4 separate regions of the Homo sapiens genome follow, and regions 1, 3 and 4 are each linked to region 2. The links are contacts of gene promoters, found by promoter capture Hi-C in blood cells and fetal thymus (Javierre and others, 2016). All regions are on one chromosome and are shown on one strand. The core of a region is centred on a gene start or on the middle of the fragment in contact, and the rest is flanking DNA. Distances in the headings are between cores, read along the strand shown.

Evidence for each region. Contacts are between HindIII fragments. The CHiCAGO score rates a contact against its expected background, and 5 or more counts as called.
Region 1: the fragment with the promoter of MARCKSL1 here is called in contact with a fragment that was not itself captured in region 2 in 1 of 17 cell types (neutrophils); the score reaches 6.4 in neutrophils.
Region 3: the fragment with the promoter of HDAC1 here is called in contact with a fragment that was not itself captured in region 2 in 1 of 17 cell types (neutrophils); the score reaches 5.0 in neutrophils.
Region 4: the fragment with the promoter of CCDC28B here is called in contact with a fragment that was not itself captured in region 2 in 1 of 17 cell types (fetal thymus); the score reaches 5.4 in fetal thymus.

Annotation. Positions count from the first base shown.
Region 1 is chr1:32,331,656-32,337,575 of GRCh38, forward strand. It overlaps MARCKSL1 (MARCKS like 1), which reads right to left and starts at 4,578. Exons shown (of 2, transcript NM_023009.7): 1 at 4,292-4,578; 2 at 2,184-3,442. The coding sequence starts at 4,378. The coding sequence ends at 2,942. It overlaps LOC124903949 (a long non-coding RNA gene), which reads left to right and starts at 3,722. Exons shown (of 2, transcript XR_007065661.1): 1 at 3,722-3,849. It overlaps HDAC1 (histone deacetylase 1), which reads left to right. Exons shown (of 14, transcript NM_004964.3): 11 at 21-151; 12 at 435-587; 13 at 1,046-1,094; 14 at 1,362-1,971. The coding sequence ends at 1,389. RefSeq lists silencers at 3,400-3,839, 3,980-4,059, 4,190-4,339, 4,360-4,889, 5,823-5,920 and enhancers at 4,231-4,800, 5,070-5,159. The HindIII fragment of the contact is 20,076 bases long and covers 1-5,920 here.
Region 2 is chr1:31,645,469-31,651,177 of GRCh38, forward strand. The region is part of intron 2 of PEF1-AS1 (PEF1 and COL16A1 antisense RNA 1); the gene reads left to right. Among named protein-coding and RNA genes, the nearest start is that of PEF1, 3.4 kb to the left of the region's middle. The HindIII fragment of the contact is 1,574 bases long and covers 3,497-5,070 here.
Region 3 is chr1:32,287,708-32,293,547 of GRCh38, forward strand. HDAC1 (histone deacetylase 1) reads left to right here and starts at 4,376. Exons shown (of 14, transcript NM_004964.3): 1 at 4,376-4,511. The coding sequence starts at 4,463. RefSeq lists a silencer at 4,090-4,499 and enhancers at 5,110-5,169, 5,241-5,815. The HindIII fragment of the contact is 8,638 bases long and covers 355-5,840 here.
Region 4 is chr1:32,195,854-32,201,875 of GRCh38, forward strand. CCDC28B (coiled-coil domain containing 28B) reads left to right here and starts at 4,742. Exons shown (of 6, transcript NM_024296.5): 1 at 4,742-4,856. It overlaps TXLNA (taxilin alpha), which reads left to right. Exons shown (of 11, transcript NM_175852.4): 11 at 1-2,432. RefSeq lists enhancers at 3,401-3,959, 3,960-4,517, 4,730-4,809, 5,068-5,587, 5,500-5,719 and 1 more. The HindIII fragment of the contact is 8,664 bases long and covers 360-6,022 here.

The DNA.
Region 1 (5,920 bases), core at 3,328-5,827, 690 kb after region 2:
CTCTCTCCCATTGGCCACAGACAGCGACTGTTTGAGAACCTTAGAATGCTGCCGCACGCACCTGGGGTCCAAATGCAGGCGATTCCTGAGGACGCCATCCCTGAGGAGAGTGGCGATGAGGACGAAGACGACCCTGACAAGCGCATCTCGAGTGAGACCCAGACCTAGAGCCCTATGCCTTCCATTCAATAGGCAGCTCACACTTCCACCACCATTCCTGGCTGCACACTCCCTCCAAGCTCCCCACCTGTAGAGAAATCTGTTTTCGAGTTCCAGTGCCTGTAGGAACAGGTTAGGGAGCCCGAGTTCCTCCCTCTTCTGGTTCCCTTTCCCTTGGTGTCTCTTGGAGGACACGCAGGGAAGCACTGGGCATAGATGCTGAGCTAAATCAGCACCCGCCTGCCCTCTCACCCATGCTTCCCACTCCCTCCCAGTCTGCTCCTCTGACAAACGAATTGCCTGTGAGGAAGAGTTCTCCGATTCTGAAGAGGAGGGAGAGGGGGGCCGCAAGAACTCTTCCAACTTCAAAAAAGCCAAGAGAGTCAAAACAGAGGATGAAAAAGAGAAAGACCCAGAGGAGAAGAAAGGTGGGTTTGGGTTCAGCTGGGACTTGGGTCTCGAGCCTGAGAGGATGAATCTATGTAGGGCAGTGGGAGGAGGGAGTGACTCAGGCCCTGCCAGCTCCTGTGGGGCTCTTCCTCAGTTCCTTGAGCCTTTCAGTGGCTCCCAGAAGTGGCAGAGCCCACAAAACAATGAACCTCTACTGCCTGAGCACGGCTCTCACATACCACCCCAGCCCTTTTCCCAGCACTGCACCCCAGTTTCCCAGGGGGCTGCCTCCGCCCACCAGGTTCTGGCTGTAGCAGGCTGGGAAACCAGTCCAACCTGTTCTCAACAGGGCTCACTGGGAGGACCAGGGATGGGCTTTTCTCTCTTTATGTCCAGTGAGCTGTAGTGTTGGGGAAGGGGTCTCAGGGTAAATGAAGACCTCATGGGTCTTCCCAGAGGTGCTGCCCTTGGCCATCCCTGTACTCTTGTGTTCTAGAAGTCACCGAAGAGGAGAAAACCAAGGAGGAGAAGCCAGAAGCCAAAGGGTGAGGAAGGAGCTGCCTGTGGCCATCTCCCTGGCATTGGAGCACCAGCCCCTTTGTCCCACCACTCTGAGGAAAGGCACAGGGACAGCTGGTCCAGCTTACAAAGGCCTCTTTCAGGGACCAGTCTGTCCAGCTCTGCAGTTCTAGGCAGAGCTAGGAGCCCCAGCCCCCAGTAGTCACCTAGGATCCTGTGGAAGTCACTGTCTGCACTTTTGCCCTGAGGCTCTGGGCTGGGTCATCTCATGCCAGTCTCTGCTCTCTCCACAGGGTCAAGGAGGAGGTCAAGTTGGCCTGAATGGACCTCTCCAGCTCTGGCTTCCTGCTGAGTCCCTCACGTTTCTTCCCCAACCCCTCAGATTTTATATTTTCTATTTCTCTGTGTATTTATATAAAAATTTATTAAATATAAATATCCCCAGGGACAGAAACCAAGGCCCCGAGCTCAGGGCAGCTGTGCTGGGTGAGCTCTTCCAGGAGCCACCTTGCCACCCATTCTTCCCGTTCTTAACTTTGAACCATAAAGGGTGCCAGGTCTGGGTGAAAGGGATACTTTTATGCAACCATAAGACAAACTCCTGAAATGCCAAGTGCCTGCTTAGTAGCTTTGGAAAGGTGCCCTTATTGAACATTCTAGAAGGGGTGGCTGGGTCTTCAAGGATCTCCTGTTTTTTTCAGGCTCCTAAAGTAACATCAGCCATTTTTAGATTGGTTCTGTTTTCGTACCTTCCCACTGGCCTCAAGTGAGCCAAGAAACACTGCCTGCCCTCTGTCTGTCTTCTCCTAATTCTGCAGGTGGAGGTTGCTAGTCTAGTTTCCTTTTTGAGATACTATTTTCATTTTTGTGAGCCTCTTTGTAATAAAATGGTACATTTCTATATCCTCCTGAGCTTGTTTCCTATGTGTCCCTGGGTTGGTTTCAACTCTACTTCCCTGCCGTTCTGGTGTCCATGAGTATTGGGGCAACCCCCTGAACAAGAAAACCCCATAAACTTACCTGCCTGCCTTAACTCCTCCCTTGAGGTTTGAGGTAAACTACTTTCCACCAATCTTCTCACCCTACCCCCAGAAGACCACTCATTAAAGCACCACTAAAGGGACGACATTTATTCCTTTTCCAAATGTTACAGTAAAACCAGGTGGAAGAGAATGGTTTTAGCAGTTAGAAAAAAAAAAAAAGTACAAATCTGGGGTTTGGCCATTAAAAGTTATTTACAACAGTGGGAGAAAAAAAGACAAGAAGTTGTTTCACATTACAGACCTCCCCCCACCCCAAAGCCTAATACTTGCTTACCAAGTCAAAAAAGAGACACAGTTGATTCACAGGCTGGAGGTTTGAACTTGAGTAAGACATTTATAAAAACCTAGACGGGGCAGTGTCCTCCCCAGCCCAGGTGCCACTAGGCACAGCACAAGAGACTAAAAACAACAGGGGAAGGCTGGACACTCAAGGTTTGGGAGTATAAGCACCCCACTTCTGGCTCAGGGATTTGGGGAGTAGGGTAAACAAAACCTACTTGGAAAAGAATTGGGGAAGAAAACCAACAACTGCCTTATGCAGGGGTGGGGACAGGGAAGGAGGTAGGGCCAGGGACAGGAGCATTTCACATCACTAACCTAACTTGGGAAGCTGTAAGGGACCATCTTCAACTGGCCTTAAGAGGAGAACCAGATGGCTGATGGGAGAATCCACAGGAGGGAGAGGAGGAAAGGGAACGTGGCTGGGAGGAGGCAATAGCCCCTTCCTTTCTGGGCACAGGAAGGCAGCCAGGGCACCAGGTCCAGGCAGTGACCTCACAAGGACAGCACAGTTTTTGCAGCTTAGAGATCACCCACCTGCCCCTACCTAGCTACTCATTCTGCTCAGCGCTGGCTGGTGTAGGGCCACTCTCCGGCCCCGAGGGAGTGGATGGCTCTGTAGCCTGGGGCCCTGCCTCTTCTTCTGAGGCTGCACTAGCCTCTGCCCCCTTGGCCTGGGGTTCCTGGCTCTCAGGGGTGGCTGCGGCCTTCCCTTCCTGAGCAGTGCCCTCGTCGCTGCAGGCACCGATCTCCCCCTGCTCCTGCTCTTCCTCTGTGGGTGAGGAGGCAGAAGAATCACCCCCACCCTCCTTCCGATTTCTCTTGAAGGACAGGCCGCTCAATTTGAAAGGCTTCTTGAAAGAGAATTTCTTCTTCTTCTTGGGGGTCTCCTTGGGGGGGACCTCCCCCTTGGCCTCAGCACCCTGGCTAGGGGGTGCTGGCTCGATGGCATCGCCAGTGGCCCCGGCTGCCTCATCTGTTCCGTTCACAGGGGGCGACTCCCCTTCACCCTTGGGGGATAAGTCTCCATTGCTTTTCACGTGGCCATTCTCCTGCAGGGCAGAGGGAATAGCAATGAGGGCAGGGGCTCCCCCTCCCCCAGCCCGCTTCTGATCCCTTCTAGAGGAAGGGGTCCTCGATTCGATTCTACTGCAACCCGAAAGTCTGGCTTCAGCCTCACCCACACCCAGGATCCCGTCAAACACCTCCCTCTCGCCCCTCACGGGCGCGCGGGGAGCGAGCGCGCAGAGGGCGCGACCGGCAGGAGGCGCTGGGGTCCCGTGGCCCCCACCCCCGTCCCCCGGGGCGCGCTCTCTATTCCGCGCGGAACCGCTCCGGATCTGCTGTGCGGATCCCGGGCAGGCGGGCGAGCCGCTCTAGGCGACATTGGGCGGGAAGCCGCCCCGGGGCGCTGTCTCTCTGCACCTGGACGGCCTATTTTCCCAGCCTCCCGCTTTGTGTAAGTGGCCCCCACCCACCCCAGGCTCTCCCGCATCTCGGCTCCCCCTTAAAAAAAAAAAGACCGTGGGCCACCGAGGTCGGGTCGGCGGGTGGAGTGCGCTCCCCGCCGGGCCCCAGCTCCGCGGCCCCTGGGCGCCCCCTTGGCGTGGCCCAGCAGCGCCTTTGTTCCCCGCGCGGCACTCGGGGCGGCCGGGGGGCAGCGCCGGGGACCGGGGCCGCGAACAAAGAAGGCGGCAGGGCCCGGCCGGCGCCCCCTCCCCGCCCCTCCCCTCGCTTCGCCCGCGGGGGCTGCGGCGCCGAGAACAAAGGGACCGGGCGGGGGAGGGGGCGCCGCGTGTCCCGGGCCGGACAAAGCGCGCGGCCCCGGCCCCGGCCCCGGGCCCTAGAAGGGGCGAGGTGCGAGAGGAGGGGCTGGGGCCGGCCGGGCCAAGCGTACCCACCTGGCCGTTGGCCTTCGCGGGGGAAGCGCCTGCTGCCTCCTCGGCGGTCACGTCGCCCCGGGGAGCCTTGGAGCTCTGGCTGCCCATGATGGGGGTCTGCTGGGGGGCGCTTGGAGCCGCCCCGGGCTCGCGCCGCAGGGGATAGTACGGCGGGGTCGGCCCGGCCGGCGGAGGGGTGGGGCTGGCGCCCGAGGGGGAGGGGTGCCGGGGGAAGCCGAGCTGCACCTCCGCTCCGCGGCCGACCCGCTAGCTGCGCCCGCCGCCGCTCCGCTCCGCGCCAGAATGCCGCCCGCCGCCCGCCGAGCTGCCTATATATAAGCGCCCGGAGCTCGGGGCGGGGCCGGACATTTAAATGCGCGCCCAATCGAGGGGCGGAGGCGGGGTTGGCTCGCAGGCCCCACTTGCGCAGCAGGCGACGCTGGCGGTCGGGTACCCCCCACCCCACCCGAATCCCAGGGGCAGGTAGAGTCCGGTGTGGGCAGGAGCGAGGCCAGTCCTCCCGCGAGCTGGGCGGGGCGGGGCGGGGGGCCTGGAGGAAGGAGACGGGCAGTCATTCCATCCTCTCCGCTCCACCTCTCCGGTGGGCGCCCCCGCAGCCTGGAGCGGCCCCCAACGCCTTGGTCCTGCAGCCGCTGGCAGTCTCCCGCTTGAACCCTTCGAAGGGCTCACACGACCAGGCTCGTCAGATGGCTGGTCCTGAATTATACTCTAGAAATGTGGTCATAGAAGCTGCAGGGCCCCTGCGCTGGGCTCGGCACCCGCTCCGGCCTGGAGAGCGGTCAGAGGTCCCACCCACGTCCCTGCCTGCCTGCCATGGCCAGCCGGGGAGCGGAGGGCTCTGCCTTGCCTCGGGGTCACTCTGGTCGGACTAGTGAGGCCTTTCCCTCATTCCTCCTTTCAGTCCCTTGGTGGCCAGTCATTCTGAGTGGGGACAGACAGATTCGCCTTGAGCCCCTCCTGCCCTCAGCCTGGACCCACTGCAAAGTCCCACGTGGGGGACTTTGTGACCTTGAAGGGCATCTCCATCCCCATTGAAAGGCCAAGGCTCAGAGGCATTGACAACCTGTCTGACTTGGCTCTGGTCCTTCCTCTTTACCTCCACACACAACTCTGCTCCCCTACATCAGGGTGCCCCAGGCCGGCAGAGGAACCCCAGCTGGGGACTCAACAAACCTCAAAACACCCCAGTTTCTGAAGGGGAGGGATAGGATGCTACCAAGGGTCCCTTCAAGGGACAGCCCCTTGAGGACAGCCCTCAAAGCTGCCCAGCCCAGCTTCCCACCCTGCCTGAGAGCAAGGGAGCCCGGAGGTGCTCCGGGCTGGAGACTCCCTAGCTTTGGTCCTCTGCCACCTCTCCTTCTGCTGGCCTGGATAGGCTGGTGGGAACCCCAGAATCCTGGCCGGCCCCGGATGTCTGTGTCCGGCTGCCAGCCCTCAGCCCCCAGGAGGAAAGGGATGGGGGCTGGAAGGAAGCAAAGTGTTGCAAATGCAAGGCTGTGTCCCAGCCAGCTCAGCAAGTCCCTCCCCTCCCTCCTACGGTGAAGCCTCCTGGGAGGCCTGAGGCTGTGAAGTGTGGAGACACCCCAGGGCCTGAGAAATTGGGAACTCCCCAGAGATCTGACCACAGAG
Region 2 (5,709 bases), core at 3,034-5,533:
AAAATTGAATTATCTAGTGCCTCTTTCTTCATAAATGGGGAAACTGAGGTGCAGAGAGGCAGTTGCCTTGCCCTAGCTCACAGTGGGTCGCCTAGAACCGGGGTCAATGGATGTCCAGTTCTCAGCAGGGAGGTCTAGGTCGGTCCCCATCGTAGGTCAAATCCTGGTGACCGAGTGATCTCAGCACCATGTACTTGCCACTCAGTGGTTCCGTTTCTACACTTATTTGTGTGCTTATTTGATTTCTTTGTCAAGTTCTTTCATGTGGGCTAGGGTTTTGTCTGTTTTTGCTTGTCATTATAACTCCAGTACCTAGTATAGCGACTGACACGATTATTAAAATAAATGAATAAATGAATGTTACGAACTGTTATCCAGTCTAGTCCATCTATCTAACCAAGTGCACTTTCCAAAATCACAGTGCTGATCATGCCACTTGCCCACTACACAGCCTACAATGGATGCTCTTCATCCACGCCTACAAAATAAGGCCCAATCTCTTCATTCTGGTACTCCAGGCCCTTCAGAATCTGGCCCAGCCTCAACTTTCCAATCTTACGGCCCCTTCTGCTACTCTGTATTTCTGTGCTCAGTTCCACCATTCAGCACTTCTGCTTTGGAGGGAGGATCTTTGTTTTATCACTTTCTAACTGTATCACCTTAGGCAGGTTTTTTGTTTGTTTGTTTTTAATTTCCAACTTTTAAGATCAGGGGTATATGAGCAGGATGTGGTTTGTTACATAGGTAAATGTGTGCCATGGTGGTTTGTCGCACACATCATCCCATCACCCAAGTGTTAAGCCCAGCATCCATTAGCTATTCTTCCTGATGCTCTCCCTCTTCCCACCTCCCTCTACGCTCCGACAGACCCCAGTGGTGTATGTGCTCTCCTCATTCAGCTCCCACTTATAAGTGGTAACATGCGGTGTTTGGTTTTCTGTTTCTCTGTTAGTTTGCTGAGGATAATGGCTTCCAATTCCATCCACGTCCCTGCAAAGGACATGATCTTGTTCCTTTTTTATGGCTGCATAGTATTCCACAGTGTATATCTACCACATTTTATTTAGGCAAGTTATTTAACCTCTCTAAATTTCACTTTTCTTAGCTGACAGGAACAAATGTGTAAATTTGAAAATGAGCTTATTATACCTGCTCATGCCCCAAACTTAGGTTCAAACCACTCCTTTCACCTGGACCAGCAGCCCTCCCAACTCCAGTCCTGCAAGGCTCAGTTCCAATTCCATTCTCCACCTAACCCTCCCACATTCCCCTTAGCTCCAGAGTTAGCCACTCTCTCTTGCCACTCCCCCTTTGCACTTGGTACTGTCACTGTGTGGTATTCCAGCCTGCCTTGTATAAGAGTTTTCTTTTGGTGTTTTCCCCAAAACCCATTCCTCTCCATCTCAGAAAATCCACCCAGTCTCTCAGGCCAAAAACCTAAGATCATTCCTGTGTGTCCTTTTTTTCTCCACACACTCCCTCACCTCCCTCATCTCCATTTGCTCTAATTCAAACATGTACACATCTGCTCTTTTCTCCCTGTTCGCACTATCACTGTAGTCCAAGACACTATCATCCGTGCCTGGATCACTACAATAGCCGACTGACCAATGTTCCTGCTCTCACTCTTCTCCCCACGCTTCATTTTCTCCACAGGCAGCCAGAGTGGTTATCTTATTCCTTGGCTTCAACTCCCTGGGGACTTCCCATCACTCTTATAATAAAAGCTAAACTCATCCTAATGACATTCATGGCCACACATACCAGCATCTCCAGCCTCATTTCTTGCTGTTGCTGTCCCCCTTGCCTCATTCCAGCCATGCCGGCCTGGTTGTGCCATTCCTGGAATGTACAGAGCTCATTCCTGGATGTTGGCTTTGGCTGGTCTCTGACTGCCTGCTCATTCCTGCCTCCAGGTCTTTGGACTAGCTTTTCCCTCTGTCTGGGATAGTCTTCCCTTGACTTTTCACTGGTTGGCTTCTCCTTATCATCCAGGTCTCAGTTCAGATATCACCTGGGGTGGGGGGAGTTTCTTGACACTGCCCCCCAAGCATTCCCATCATCTATCTTATTTTTTCATAATACATGTCACTAGTTGAATTGTCCACTTTGTTTACATGTATATTGTAGAATTGTCATTTTCTTATGTAGTCCTCTAACCTCAGCACCTAGAATAGTGCCTAGCATGAATTCAATGTTAGTAGTTATTATTATCATGTATTGAGTGCTTACTAGGTGCCAGACGTTGTGCTAAGTACTATGTGTTGTTTAATTTTCACCACAGTCTTTTGAGATAGAGACTATTACCCATTTATAATGAGGAGCTGAGGCTCAGAGAGGTTAAGTGACCTTCCTGTTATCAAAAAGATAAATGGAGCCCAGGCGCAGTGACTCGCGCCTATAATCCCAACACTTTGGGAGGCAGGGAGGAGGACCGCTTAAGCCTAGGAGTTCGAAACCAGCCTGGACAACATAGTGAGACCCTATCGCTACAAAAAATAGTTTTAAAAAATTAGCCAGGCATGGTGGCATGTGTCTGGAGTCCCAGCCACTCCAGAGGCCAAGGTGGGAGGATTGCTTGAGCCCAGGAGGTCAAGGCTGCAATGAGCTGTGTTTGCACCACTGCACTCCAGCCTGGGCAACAGAGAGACTCTGTCTGGGGAAAAAAAAAAAAAAAAAAAAAGATAAATGGAGAAGTAGGACTTGATCCCAGGTCTGCATTTTTTTTAACTACTCAGTATTTAATAGTTAGTAGATTGTGTCTTCTTTACCTTCCTAACCCCCCAGTTCAAAAAATATTGGTGGAATTGAGCTGCAAAACTTCAGAAGGGAAGAAGGTTGAAGGTCAAGTGGGTATTTGCCTGGAGAGAGAACAGTGACAAGCTGGCCTGCAAACTGGAGTCATGTGACACACACTCATTTATTCCACAAACATATGATCCCATTGGGTTCCCACCTCTTGCCAGGCTCTGTTCTAGGTGATGAGAATCCAACTCCTATGAGAATTATTTGCCCCCATTCCCCTATGCCCAGCAAAGGGCTTAGGAGAACTATCTGTGGGAGGTCTGTGCTATTTCGTGGATGGAGCATCCACATCTTCTCTTAGGGAGTCAGGAACGTGCCAAAGCCAACAGCCAGGGCTGTGCCTCTGAGGACCCACACAGGCCCAGGTATGTTTGTTTTGGAGGGGGCTGGATAAAAGAGAGATCAGGATCTTCCTAAGACTGAAAAACAATCAACTCACTTCCAAAACCTCATCTACCTGAGGCAGACAGAGGTGGGTGGAGAAGTTCCTGTTATTGTTTCACTTGTAGCCCAAGGGGAAAGCATGGATTCCAGACTTTTTTTAGAACACAGAGCACTTTCCTGAGTTCGTGGAAGCCCTGCGGTTGACCCATTAGGGGTGAGGCAGAGCTTGGTAATGAAAAGCCCATCCACTGGAAAATATTGCCTCCCCTAGAGACACAGCCTCCCAGGAGCCACTTGGCTCGCACCAAGCTTCTGTAAGGCTTACTGAGAAGGAATACCAACACCCACCTAATTATTATGGAATTAATTCTCTTTGATTCCAACTAGATCCAGTTCTGAAATTTAAATTCCAGTTGGATGCTGTGGATCAGAGGATGATTTGCAACTTTCCACAGAAGCAACAGAGGAATGAGAACAGCAGACGTGGCAATTTGGCCACACTCCCCTTCCATTATGGGATCATAAGTAGAGTACGTTGACATCGTCTATTCCCATAAACTGTTCAGGACAGCCACAAAAAAGATCTAGTCCTTTGGGATCTCCAGCACCAAAAAAAAAAAAAAAAAAATATCCATGGCCGGGCACGGTGGCTCACATCTATAATCCCAGCACTTTGGGAGGCCGAGGCAGGCAGATCACCTGAGGTCAGGAGTTCAAGACCAGCCTAACCAACATGGTGAAACTCTGTCTCTACTAAAAATACAAAAATTAGCTGGGCATGGTGGCTTGTGCCTGTAGTCCCAGCTACTCCGGAGGCTGAGGCAGGAGAATCACTCGAACCCTGGAGGTGGAGGTTGAGTGAGCCAAGATCGCACCACTGCACTCCAGCCTGAGTGACAGAGTGAGACTCTGTCCCCCCACCTCCAAAAAAAAAAAAAACTAGTCTTGTAAAGGGGTTAACAGACCCCAGATGAAGAAAGAGTCTAATTAGATTCTGTTGAATTTGAGTGACAGAGGAAAATATTATGACAAAAAATGAAGATTTAAATTCCAGAAGCATCAAAGTTTAGATTTTTCTCTGCAGAATAAATACACAGCAGCCTTTTCTCCATCTTATTGAGCAGAGGGTTTCTCAAATTAAGGACCCTCCAGTCCCATCCTTCACACTGCCATCAGCGAACTCCCCACTCGGCAAACCTGACTTGACACACCTTTGTGAGAAACCCACCAGTGGCTTCCAACTGTCTTCCCTGCTCATGCTCCAAAATCCAATCACACTGTCCTGTCTCCCGTCACTCAGCCTGCTGCAACCAGTCATTTCTGGGCCTTGGCACGTGCTGTTCCCTCTGCCTGAATCCATCTCTTCGTCTAGACATGGTTAGGTTCCCCAGCTGTGCACTCCCCTGTACCTGGCACTGCCCTATCATCCCACTTTATTGTAGGTGCTTGTTTAACTGTCTGCTCTCCCTGTGGATGCTGTGGGAGCAGGGACCATATCTGTCTAGTTTGCCTTGGGATCCCCAGAGCCTAGTACAGTCCCTGGGACAAAGTAGGAAGAGGAATGGACTCATCAAGTTAGACTTTTCCAATCTGAATGATCTGTGTGCTGCCTGGAAAGCCTGGAGTAGGTTAAGAAATGAAGACAGAAGGATAATGGGGTTGGAACGTGCAAAAGCTGCCTAAGAGGAATGGACGACACATGCCCCTCCTTGCTTTCTCTTCAGCTTACCCAGCTCCTGAACTGATGAGCAAGATCCATGGATTTCTTGCTGACCACAGTAACAGAAGAGACTATAAAATTCAGCTTTCCATCTGGTTCTTCATGGTCCAAGAAAATACAGCAATTTCAAACTCCGGGGAGACATGCATTCAAATCATGAAAGCTTAAACCTAGCCTGTCGTAGAATCCCTTAAGAGTAGCATGAATTTGACTCAGGAAGAAAAGTGAAGAAGGCATCATTTACTCTATAAGGATCAATTCCCTGGTGACCCTTAAAGGGGATGAGTTGGATGTTTCCTCATAGCAGTTTTTCCCCTCTGGCCTTCAAAGCCAACCTGCTCAATTCCACAGCTGGTCCTTGCGTCTCTTTCTTTCTGCCAGCGCCAACATGCTCCTCATGAGAAGGCCTATCATCAGCTAGTACTCGGCAGACTAGGCTGAAAGAGGAAGCTGGCCTTCCAATGGGAGTGCTTTAACATCTGTCCTCTTCCACTGTCCAAAACCTGGCTGCTACTTCAGTACAAAAATGATGCCTTTGCTTTTTAATGTTTTATGTTAGAACCAGGGTTAACTGAGAATAGCTGGGGAGGGATGAAAAAAGAATCAGCGCCTCCTTTATCTAAAAACATCACATGAGACACTCGGGCATGCTCAGGAGTCTGATTTCATTCTTCTGGCCACCAGCACACCTTTGCTCCTGGCAGGAAAAAAAAAAATAGGGCAAAGGTTCTGAAAAGCCATCAATAGGCTGGTCTCCTGGTATTTGGGACCCAACTAGAGAAGGGAGTTTTCAGAAATGT
Region 3 (5,840 bases), core at 3,126-5,625, 640 kb after region 2:
CTCCCAAAGTGCTGGGATTATAGGCGTGAGCCATAGCGTCCAGCCCTGACTTACATTTTAAAAGGATGGCTCTTGCTGCTGTCTTGAAAATAGACTGAGTTAGTCAGTTTATAAAACTGGGGAGATTTTGCATAAAACTCCAGATTTCTGCCTTCTCTTGAAAAATAGGGGCTAGGTGCGTTGGCTCACTCCTATAATCCCAGCATTTTGGAAGGCCAAGGTGGGCAGATTGCTTGAGCCCAGGAGTTTAAGACCAGACTGGACAACATGGCAAAACCCTGTCTCTACCAAAAAAAAAAAAAAATTAGCAGGGTGTGGTGGTGCACACCTGCAGTCCCAGCTACTCAGGAGGCAAGCTTGTATTCCTAGCTACTTAGGAGGATAGTTTGAGCCCAGGAAGTCAAGGCTGCAGTGAGCATGATCCTGCCATTGCACTCCAGCCAGAGCAAAAAAGAGAGCGAAACCCCATCTCAAAAAAAAGGGAAGATTTAGCTATGTTGGACTTACCTGTCCTCATGGAGCTGAATAATGGCCACCCCTCCAGGTAGGGCCTGAACTCTACCTTTGCCAGAGTCCCCTCCACTCCCTGTTGGTCTTAGACAATGAAACTGAGTGTTAGTAGCTATTTACCACCAAGCTCATGCTTGTTGTTCTTATAATAAAGATAAATGGTTTAATAAATGGTATGATAAAGAAAATTATATTATGGTATTATACCATTTAATAAATGGTATAATAAAGAAAATGGTTTTTTGCACCCACATTTCCATTAAAAAGTGAGAAAATTAAAGATACCTGAGGATGGCAGAGTGTTTGATGAAAGATAGGGAAATGTTGGCCAGGCACCGTGGCTCACACCTGTAATCCCAGCAGTTTAGGAGGCCGGGGCAGGCGGATCACAAGGTCAGGAGTTCAAGATCAGCCTGGCCAACATAGTGAAACCCCGTCTCTACTAAAAATACAAAAAATTAGCCGGGAGTGGTGGCAGGTGCCTACAATCCCAGCTACTCGGAAGGCTGAATGGCGCGATCTCAGCTCATTGCAACCTCTGCCTCCCAGGTTCAAGCCATTCTTCTGCCTTAGCCTCCCTAGTAGCTGGGATTACAGGCGCCTGCCACCATGCCTAGCTAATTTTTATATTTTTAGTAGACGTGGGGTTTCGCCATGTTGGCCAGGCTGGTCTCAAACTCCTGACCTTGGGTGATCTGCCCGCCTCGGTCTCCCAAACTGCTGGGATTACAGGAGTGAGCCACAGTGCCCGGCCTCTAATTTTTATTTTTAATTTTTTTAATTTTTATTTTTTTAATTTTTATTTTATTTATTTTTTGTAATTTTTAAAATATACAAAAAAAGGGCCGGGTGTGGTGGCTCACGCCTGTAATCCCAGCACTTTTTGGGAGGCTGAGGTGGGTGGATCACGAGGTCAGGAGATCGAGACCATCCTGGCTAACATGGTGAAACCCTGTCTCTACTAAAAATATAAAAAAATTAGCCGGGCCTGGTGGCAGGTGCCTGTAGTCCCAGCTACTCGGGAGGCTGAGACAGGAGAATGGCGTGAACTCGAGAGGTGGAGCTTGCAGTGAGCCAAGATCGCACCACTACACTCCAGCCTGGGCGACAGAGTGAGACTTCATCTCAAAAAAAAAAAAAATTATATATATATATATACATATATATATGCAAACAAAGAGCATCTGAGTCATAATAATGTAAATCTATCACCTGACTGACCTGCTGCCACACCTCATGATCTCATCTGATCCCCACACTCCTTCTCTTTGGGATACTGTGTACAGCCATAGCGTGGGTGAACTTTGTATTCCTATCCTCCCCATTTTTGTTATTTTATTTTATTTCTTATTTATTTGAGACAGAGTCTCACTCTGTCATCCAGACTGTAATGCAGTGGCCTGATCTCGGCTCACTGCAACCTCCACCTCCCGGTTTCAAGCGAATCTCCTGCCTCAGCCTCCTAAGTAGCTGGGACCTACAGGCACACACCACCACGCCCAGCTAATTTTTGCATTTTTAATAGAGACGGGGTTTCACCGTGCTGGGCAGGCTGGTCTCGAACTCCTGACCTCAGGTGATTTGCCCACCTCAGCCTTCCAAATTGTTAGGATTACAGGCATGAGTCACTGTGCCCGGCCTCCTCCCCATTTTATAACAAGGGAAATGGAGGCCCAGAATGGTTAAGTAAACCCACCCAGGGCTAGCTGAGAATTAGCAACAGAGAACTGGGAGTAGAATTTGTTCCCTGGCCCTTTGCTGTTTCTATTATAAGCCACCCAGTCTTAGATTTTCTGTTACCTTATAATTAATGACTCAAATGCAGTTTCTGAGTGAGAAACACAAGTCCCAAACACTCTTTAAAGAGGCATAAAGATGTATCTTGTTGTTTTCTTTTGTTTGAGACAAGGCCTGGCTCTATTGCCCAGGCTGGAGTGTGGTGACATGATCTTGGCTCACTGCAACATCTGTCTCCTGGGCTCAAGCCATCATCCCACCTCAGCCTCCTGAGTAGCTGGAACTACAGGAGCGCGCCCCCACACCTGGGTAATTTTTCTATTTTTTGTAGAGATGGGGTTTTGCCATGTTGCCCAGGCTGGTCTCGAACTCCTGAGCTCAAGTGATCCACCCATCTTGGCCTCCCAAAGTGCTGGGATTACAGGCGTGAGCCACTGTGCCCAGCCTCTTGTTGACTGTAGGACCACAAGTTGGCGGCTAACTTAGAGCAATGTTTGGCACACAGGAAGCACTCATTAAATATTGACATTATTGTAGTTATTTTAATAGCCCAGCATTGCACTTTTAGGTCTTTCAGCTTTCAGTGATGATCAGTTGATAATTGATGATCTGGTGGAGTGGTTCTTAATGGTAGAGTTGGGGGCAATTTTACACTCCCTTACACCCCACTAATCTTCCCCCCAACCCAATGGTAAAGCTATTGCACAGTACTTGGCAATGTCTAGAGACAATTTTGGTTGTCACAGCCTGGGGGGAAGGTGCTACTGGCATCTAGTGGGTAGAGGCTAAGGATGCTGCTTAATTTTTTTTTTTTTTGAGACAAGAGTTTCACTCTAGTTGCCCAGGCACAGAACAGCTTCACAGAAGCTGTTAATGCACAGAATAGCTTCCTACAAAAAAGCATTACCTGGCCCAAAATGTCATTAGCTACCAGGCTGAGAAACCTGCCCTCCTAGGCCGGGCGCTGTGGCTCACGCCCGTAATCTCAGCATATTGGGAGGCCGAGGTGGGCGGATCCTGAGGTCAGGAGTTCGAGACCACCTGGACCAACACGGAGAAACCCAGTCTCTACCAAAAATACAAAATTAGCCGGGCATGGTGGCACATGCTTGTAATCCCAGCTACTCGGGAGGCTGAGGCAGGAGAACCGCTTGAACACAGAGGCAGAGATTGTGGTGAGCCGAGATCACACCATTGCACTCCAGCCTGGGCAACTAGAGCGAAACTCTTGTCTCAAAAAAAAAAAAAAAAAAAAAAACAGGGAAAGAAAAGAAAGGAAACCTGCCCTCCTATCATAGGATAATCCCATTTCCTCCTGTCTAAAGAGACGCCTACTTAGTCATCCTGGGTGACTGCATCAGGGAGGTAGATTTTGGAGTCTGAAAGGCTGGGTTCTGTCACTTTGTTACAGTGCCTCTGGTGCAAAGAAAGCATTTTAAAAACCCTGTACAATTAAAAAATTGAATTTAATTACTTTGTGTAACTTTGAATAATTCACAGAAGTCTGAACTTCTTTATCCTGTCCTGTAAAATGGAGGTAAAAAGCCCTTGGCCGAGAGCTGTTTTGAGGAAAAACTGAAATAACATTGGTAAAGTGTCGCACAGTACTTGGCACACAGCAGCCCCTCGACAAACATTAGCTTTCTTTCCCTTTCTTGTCGGTTTCTTCCTCTCCAAACCCGCGTGTTGCTTTTCTTTTTAATTATTTTTCTGTAGCCCTCCTTTGCGGCCACAAACTCGCTTTCTAACCCAGGTTCAGCCCTTTTATTGGCTGAGTGACCTTGTGCAAGTCACTTTTCCCCTGTAGGCCTCGGTTTATTCTCCGTAAAATCAGAAAGTTGGCCTCCGATCTCCAAGCACGCTTTTCACGACGAAGTGGGACTGTTAAGTTTACAGAGCTGCTTTCCTCCCCCGGGACTGATGGTACGGTCCCCGGGCGGCTCCCCACCCATCTGTCGCAGACCTTGGTACAGGCCCAGGGGGCCCTCGGCGGCCTCTCCGGGCTGCCCTTGCCCCCTGCCGAGTTCCGGGCCCGTGTCTGCGCAAGCTGATTGGCTGGAGCGGTGCCCGGGCTGCGCGGCTATAGGTGAGCCCAGGAGGGGACGGGCGGGGCGGGCCGGAGGCCCGCCCCCTCCCCCCTGGGTCGGACGCTGAGCGGAGCCGCGGGCGGGAGGGCGGACGGACCGACTGACGGTAGGGACGGGAGGCGAGCAAGATGGCGCAGACGCAGGGCACCCGGAGGAAAGTCTGTTACTACTACGACGGTGAGCACCGTCCTCGCGGCGGGGGCGGGGCCAGGCCGGGCCGGACCGGGAACCTGGAGGCTGAGGCTGGAGCGCCGATGGGAGGCTGCGGGAGGCTGAGGCGCTGGGGAGAGGCTCGGAGAGGAGGCTGCGAGGGGGAAGTCGAGGCTGAGGGAGGAGGCTGCGAGGAAGGGAGATCGAGGCTGAGACCAAGAGGGGATCGCGTGGGGGAAGCGTGAGGTAATCTTGATGGGAAGATTCTGAGGAAGTCTGATGTGGAGAGTTTGAGTGGGACTCCTAGAGGGGAGGGTGCGTCGGAGCGGGGAGGCTGAATCTGATGGAGACGGCTGCAAGGATACATTTTCTTGCCGAGAACCCAAAGCTCTTCCCTGCCCCGTCCCTTCCTCATCTTTTCTGGGGGAAGAGTCCTGCACGACTGGTTGCCCGCCTCCCCTCCCCCAGCCTCTGAGCGGGGCCTGCGGTTGCTACTGCGACGTGGGGCGCCAGGGGTTGCAAGGAGAAGGATGCAACCTGTTAAAACAGACTTCTCACTTAATCTCTCAAGCAGGTTACTGTGTTCGAGGAAGTGTTGAGGGGCTGGGGCCGTGGGGTTGATCGGGTCACCCTTCCCAGTGACCGAAGTTCTCTCCGTGTCAGAGCTCAGAGTGTTAGGGGAGCACAGAGAAGAGGCACCGAACTCCACCTGAGGAGTCAGCGAAGGAGGGGACATCTTAGTTAGGACCTGAAGAACAGGAGTTCTTAGCCAGGCACAGGGAAGGCAAAGATAACAGCAAGTTTCAGAGGCAAGAGAGAGGACAGGACCTTTGAAAAACAGGCATTTGGCCGGGCGTGGTGGCTCACGCCTGTAATCCCAGCACTTTGGGAGGCCGAGGCTGGTGGATCACCTGAGGTCAGGAGTTCGAGACCAGCCTGGCCAACATGGTGAAACCCCGTCTCTACTAAAAATACAAAATTAGCCGCGCATGGTGGTGTGCGCCTGTAATCCCAGCTACTCTGGAGCCTAAGGCAGGAGAATCCCTTAGAACCCGGGAGGCAGAGGTTGCAGTGAGCTGAGATCGTGCCACTGCACTCCAGCTTGGACAACAGAGCGAGGCTCTGTCTTAAAAAAAAAAAAAAAAAAAGATGTAAATAGGGACCGGACCATGAAGGGCTGGGCATGCTGTCCCAAGGAAGTTGGACTTTATTGAGGGCACTTGTGAGTGATTCAAGTTTTATGCAGGTTATTGACATCATCAGGTTTATACCTTAGAAATTAAAGTAATGGGGGCCAGGTGCAGTGGCTCACACCTCTCTAATCCCAGTACTTTGGGAGGCTGAGGCAGGCAGATC
Region 4 (6,022 bases), core at 3,492-5,991, 550 kb after region 2:
CAGGCCAATGATGCTTCTCAGTAGCCTTATCATTCACAGGTGCCTCTCTAGCCTGCACAAATGATTGACAAGAGATCACCCAAAGGATTATTTCTGAAGGTGTTTTTTTCTTTATTTCTTTTTCTTTTTTTTTTTTTTTCTTTTTCTTTTTTTTTTGCACATGACAGTGTTTGTATTGAGGACCTTCCAAGGAAGAGGGATGCTGTAGCAGTGGTGCCTGGGTGCCTGGCCTCCAGTGTCCCACCTCCTTCACCACCCCACTTGGCTCCTTTGCCATCTTGATGCTGAGGTTTCCTGTTTGGTGAGATCAGGTTGTTTGTGGTAAAAGAAAGGAAAGGGCTTCTGATGGCTTTGCCACAAGCTTACCTGTGGGTTTCAGTCCTGAGAGGCCACCACCAGTTCCCATCAGCACTGTCTCCATGCAGCAGTTGCTGGGTCCCATGTCCAGCTGCCTCTTTGGCTTCATGGGTTTTTCTGCTTCCTGCCCCCACCCCCACATGTGCAATCCTCAAGATTTGTCCTGATTCTATTTCCTGGCACCTCCCTGCCTGTCCTTGGGGATTCTACTTCTTCCTGTGTGGGAGCCCATAGCTGTTGTCTAACAGGTAAGAAATGAAATTGAACTATTGACTGGGCCCCAGAAATCCATAAAATGGCTGCAGACAGTTGTTTCTGTGTCCTGTTCTACCCCCACTCCAGTACATAACTACTATGTACTGTGTAGAGCCATTCTATATGCTGAATGTTCTGCTGTTGCAAACTTGCCAGGGTATTAGCCAGTGTTTGTGCCAAGCAGTTTTCTGGGACAACAGAATGACTCAGACCAAGATGGATAGGATGGTTAGGGCTTTGCTTCTTGCTGTTTTTCTTTGAAGCTAGTTCATTGTCCTGCAGGTCCCTTCATCTTCCATACCTAGCCCACTCTTTTAGCCCTTACCTTAAATCTCTCAGATAAGTTGGTTCACAAAGAATGTTAAGTACTGAATCATGTGTGACTGAGACCAGAGATGGCAAATGAATGGCACACCATTTCTCCTTCTCCTGCCCCAGGGCAGGTACCACTGATCTGCATCAGAGTTGCCTGCTATTCTCTGGTGTATCCTTCACATCTAGGTGCCCTCAAGCAGCTGTGTGAGTGTTGAGATCTCTGCCATCTCTGGCTGAGATACTGCTGTCCTGTGAAGTGTTTCCCATGACCTTTTTCTTCCCCTTTGAATCCCTCTGTCTGGAGTAGTCCTTGCCTCTTCCTGCTCCAGTAGGGCCTTTTCCCTACCCCAGCCCCTGTGCCAGGCTAAGCTGGTACAAGAGCTGCCAACCTCACAGAGTGTTTGCTAGGCGAGAGAGGTGCAGGGAAGAGGCAGAGGTATGCACCTTCCCCCTTGAAGAGAGGGGAAAGGCCTACAGTGGCCCACATAATTGCCTGACTCACACTTCAGCTACCTCTTAATGCCTGTGGAGGGACTGGAGCTGCTGGATCCCAGTGTGGTGGTGTAGGAGGCCACAGTGAGCAGGTGGCCCCAGCTGGGTTTCCCAGGTCAGGAATGTGGGCCCCAGGCAAGGTGCAGCCTTTGCTCACAGCTCCATCCATGTCTAGACCTTCAGGCCAGTCTGCAGATGAGGTTCCCTACCTTTTTCTTCTCTTCATTGACCAAATCAACCAATCACTACAGCTGCTCTGCTTCTGCTTTCCAAAGTAGCCCAGGTCCTGGGCCAGATGCAGGGGAGGTGCCTATCCATGAGTGAAGGCCAGTGTCTTCCTCACCTGGGTGGGTCCCACACTTGTGACCTCAGTTTTAGGACCAAGATCTGTGTTGGTTTCTTAGATTGCTAGCTTTTCCTCCAGGGGACCACAGCAGGTGAAGCTCAAGAGCGCATGGCTCTGCTAATAGTAAATTGTTTTCAGGGCCTTGTCCAGCTGAGAGCTTCATGTCCACCAGATTCTGAGAGGTGTCAGCAGCACTTTTTTTTTTTATTTGTTGTTTGTTTTCCATGAGGTTATCGGACCATGGGCTGAGCTCAGGCACTTTCTGTAGGAGACTGTTATTTCTGTAAAGATGGTTATTTAACCCTCCTCCACCCCATCACGGTGGCCCTGAGGGCTGACCCGGAGGCCAGTGGAGCTGCCTGGTGTCCACGGGGGAGGGCCAAGGCCTGCTGAGCTGATTCTCCAGCTGCTGCCCCAGCCTTTCCGCCTTGCACAGCACAGAGGTGGTCACCCCAGGGACAGCCAGGCACCTGCTCCTCTTGCCCTTCCTGGGGGAAGGGAGCTGCCTTCTGTCCCTGTAACTGCTTTCCTTATGGCCCAGCCCGGCCACTCAGACTTGTTTGAAGCTGCACTGGCAGCTTTTTTGTCTCCTTTGGGTATTCACAACAGCCAGGGACTTGATTTTGATGTATTTTAAACCACATTAAATAAAGAGTCTGTTGCCTTACTTGTTTCTCTCCTGACCTGTGTATTCCTTTGTTTCTGGATCTGATCCATTCAGCCCCTTCCATCATCACTGACTTGTTCAGGTCTGCTGCAGAGCGCCCATGGTGGTTCCCTGGTATCTTACATATTCCACAGTGTCTTTGAGCAGTCGCCACAGCCTCAGGATGCTGGCATATTCACTTGAGCTGCCTGAGTGGAGCCCTTGGCAAAGTTGGCAAGACCCTTGCCTCAGAGAGGATCACACACACACAAAAAAGTTTTCCCTGACCTGGGGGCTCACAGGCTAGTGAAGGGAAAAGGTACTTTTAGCTATAGACAGGTCAATGGTGCTGAGAGCAGAGAGGAGGCCCCTGCCCCCTTCAGCAAGGTGAGGGGGTGATACCTGGAATGGCCTTCTGAACCACAGGGCAGGTAGAAGATGAACGTCATTTAGTGATTAAATGGTACAGCTGGGAAGCAGGTCCATGGGACTGGGAGAGGGGGTGAGGCTGGGCCCAGAGTCTGGGTACCAGGTTAAGGAATGTGGGCTAGATCCAGAGGGCAGGGGGGGCAACTGAAGGTGTTTCAATAGGAAATTGATAGGCTCCAGCAGTAAGGCAAAAGGCATGGAGCCAGGCATAGGCCATTTGAGGCCCAGGTTAAGAGGGGTGGACACTCATCACTGCTATTTGGGTCTGAGCTGTGGGTAGGCTCCTATAGCCCTGGCCTGCCCAAGGGAATTCACAGGGGCCTCTAATTGTATGCATTCCTTAAGGAGAGCACATTCTCTGTTCAGTTTTTACACCCCCCATTTACCCACCTCAAGCATGGGACTCCTATATGGGAGACATGCTGCTGGTGGCCTCACCCAGCACCCTGTTCTCTCTGGGTCCTGGGTTGGTCAGGCACAAAGGATGATATGTGCTGAATGCCCAGGAAATGGCAGAGACAACCCACCTGCCCTTCCCTCCAGGCCTCCACAAATAGATGTGCCCACAATGACTGTGACAGTCCCAGCAGAGCCTCTGACCCTTCTAGCTGGGTCCTGATACATGTTTTCCATGCTGGCCATGTTATTTCTAGTCGCAGATCCTCTGGAGGGTGTGGGGGGGGTGCCGCCCCAACTCTTGGAGATTCCAAGCAAAGCAGCTCTGAGAATAATGAGGTTTCTGACCCCCCAGTGAAGCAGCTGAGGATGGGAACCACAGGGGTGCTCCCTCTGTCAGCAGCATTACCACTGTCTACTCTAGCAGCTCCGGTGGGGAAGGAGAGGGATTTCTGTTGTCCCCAGTCTGGGCCCCTGGTTATTGAAAAAGTTCGGAATTACTCTTTACCCTTGTGGAGTGTTCTGAGTGTTGGAAGTACCCAGGAAGAAGCCCTGAGCAGGTGCCCTCAGGAGCAGTGCCCATGGCTCCCCACATCAGCCAAGAGGCCCAACCCCAGGAAGCCACTCCTGCCCGGGGATGGGGAAGGTGGGCTGGGTGGCTGTGTGCACTGCCCTGGGCCAGCTCACTTGAGCCTGCTGAGCCGCCTGGCCAAACATGAGCCTCTCTCCTGTTGTATCAGATGCTGTTCTGGGGACCTGCGCCAGGAGCCTCTGCCAGGGCTTTAAATAGCTGCCCCCATTGATCTGGCTGCAGGCAGCAGCAGTCACACTGGGTCAGCCTCCATCAGGTGCTCAGGTTTCCCTGAGGACTGGAGTCAGGTGCCAGGGAATCGCGTGGTCTACCTTATGACCTGGTGCTCCCCACACCTGTCTCCTAGGCCTGGGGGGTGGGGAGGACTCCTGTCACTTCATCTGCGGCAAAATACAGCCCCCACCACTTACCAGAGAAAACTGTCTGGCATTGTAGAGAGAGGGGTTTTGCCCTCAAAAGACTGTTGCTTACTTTCAGTAGAATGGGGAATGACACTGGTATCTTCCTTAAGGGTTGTTATGGGGATGAAATGTATGTAAAGTGCTCAATAGGGCACTGGACTCACTCCATTGATGGCTGTCTTTGCTCGAAGTGTCTTCCTGATGCTGCTGCTGTTGCTGCTTGTGCTTCTTCTGTGCTTACATTCTCTCTCTCTCACTCACTCACTCTGTCTCTCCTCTCCCCCGCCCCACCCCCTTTCTGACAAAGCCACCACCATTTTGTAAGGAACTGTAGCTTCTCTCTGAAACTGCCGGGAAAGGGAAAATCTTTTTAAAATAGACATCACACAACCAACAGGGTCCCCTAGGTTCAGGCGGGGAGGTGAGGTCGAGTGAGAGGAACTGCTTAGCATACGCGGGGATGCTCCTCCCATCTCACCCCACCGCGCTAAGGAGAAGGTCACTTTCTCTTTAAATGCAAATGAACTCCCTCCAGCTTAGCTTTCACCCGGTGGTGTTCCCGGGAGGAGAGGGCGGAGGGCGGAGGGAACTTGCACCGAAGCATCACTCGAGACCCCAAACCTCCAGGTCAGTAGCCCCCTGAGGGAGTGAGGGCGGGGGCGGAATGACGCGGGTCTGACGCTCTGTCTTCGAGCGCGGCTGCGGAGCTGAGCGATGAGTTTGGCACATGGCTTTGGAGCCCGGGCTTGGGAAATAGATCCCCGGTCGCCCCAGCCGCTCCTGGGGAGCACAGGCTCCGGCTCCAGTTCTTCTATCAGGTCCCTAATTGGGTCAAGCTGCTGCACGGAGAGGCAGAGGATGCGCTCCTATCTCCCCTCCCCACACCCGCAGACCCCGTCAGTGGCAGCCAGCTATGTGTCAGTGTAAATGCTTAAGCGCCACCCACCCCCCCAACCCCCCCAGTCCCAGAATTCGAAGTTAGGCTCGGTAGCAGCAGCCTGGAATGAGACCCCCAGAGGAGGGAACCCCAGCCGACCGGAGGCTTGGGGGGCGCTGCTGGACCGGGGACCTCGGAGCAGCCCAGCCACAGGCGCAGCCTTTGTCGGAGGCCCAGGCAGCCAGCGGCCAACCACCCAGTCCACCCTGGCTGCAGCTGAAGCCCAGCAGGGACTTTCCGACTGGGAAAAATGAAGCAGCTGAAAGCACACCCGCGGGACCTATAGGGAGTCCCTAATATTTTCGGTTGGGGGTGGGTGGAAGTGGAGGGATGCCGGTGTCTATGTGGGGGAAACCCACAATGAACCCTGCCCTGTATGCTGCGGCTTCTCCTACAATTACCCACACGCTGGGGCTTTCCCAGGCGCCCCTACCTGCACCTTGTCCCCCTCCCATGCTGACAGGGTTTGTTAGCATCTGCTTAGGCCCCTGATAAATAGAATAGGGTTTAGTTAAGACATCCCTAATCTTCGGCTGGGCTTCTGCAGCTCACCTCCGTCTTGTCTCCCACTACATTTCCTCTGCCAGCCCCGCCCCCCAGCCACCGTGACAGGAAGCCCCAGTAGCGCCAAGATAGTTGTGACTGGTCCCACCCTTTCAGGAGGGGCCTAGGTTTTCAGGCAGAAGGGGAATTAGGTTGGGCCTTAGAAGGTCCTTCAAGTGTACATCCACGATCCCAGCAGCAGACACTGGCATCTGGCTCTGCCCCTACCGTATAGATGAGGTGACAAGCTGGAAGGTCCCAGGGCCCTTCCTTGGTGCAGCTCTCAGGGATTTCTGGGTGAAGGGCTAACTTT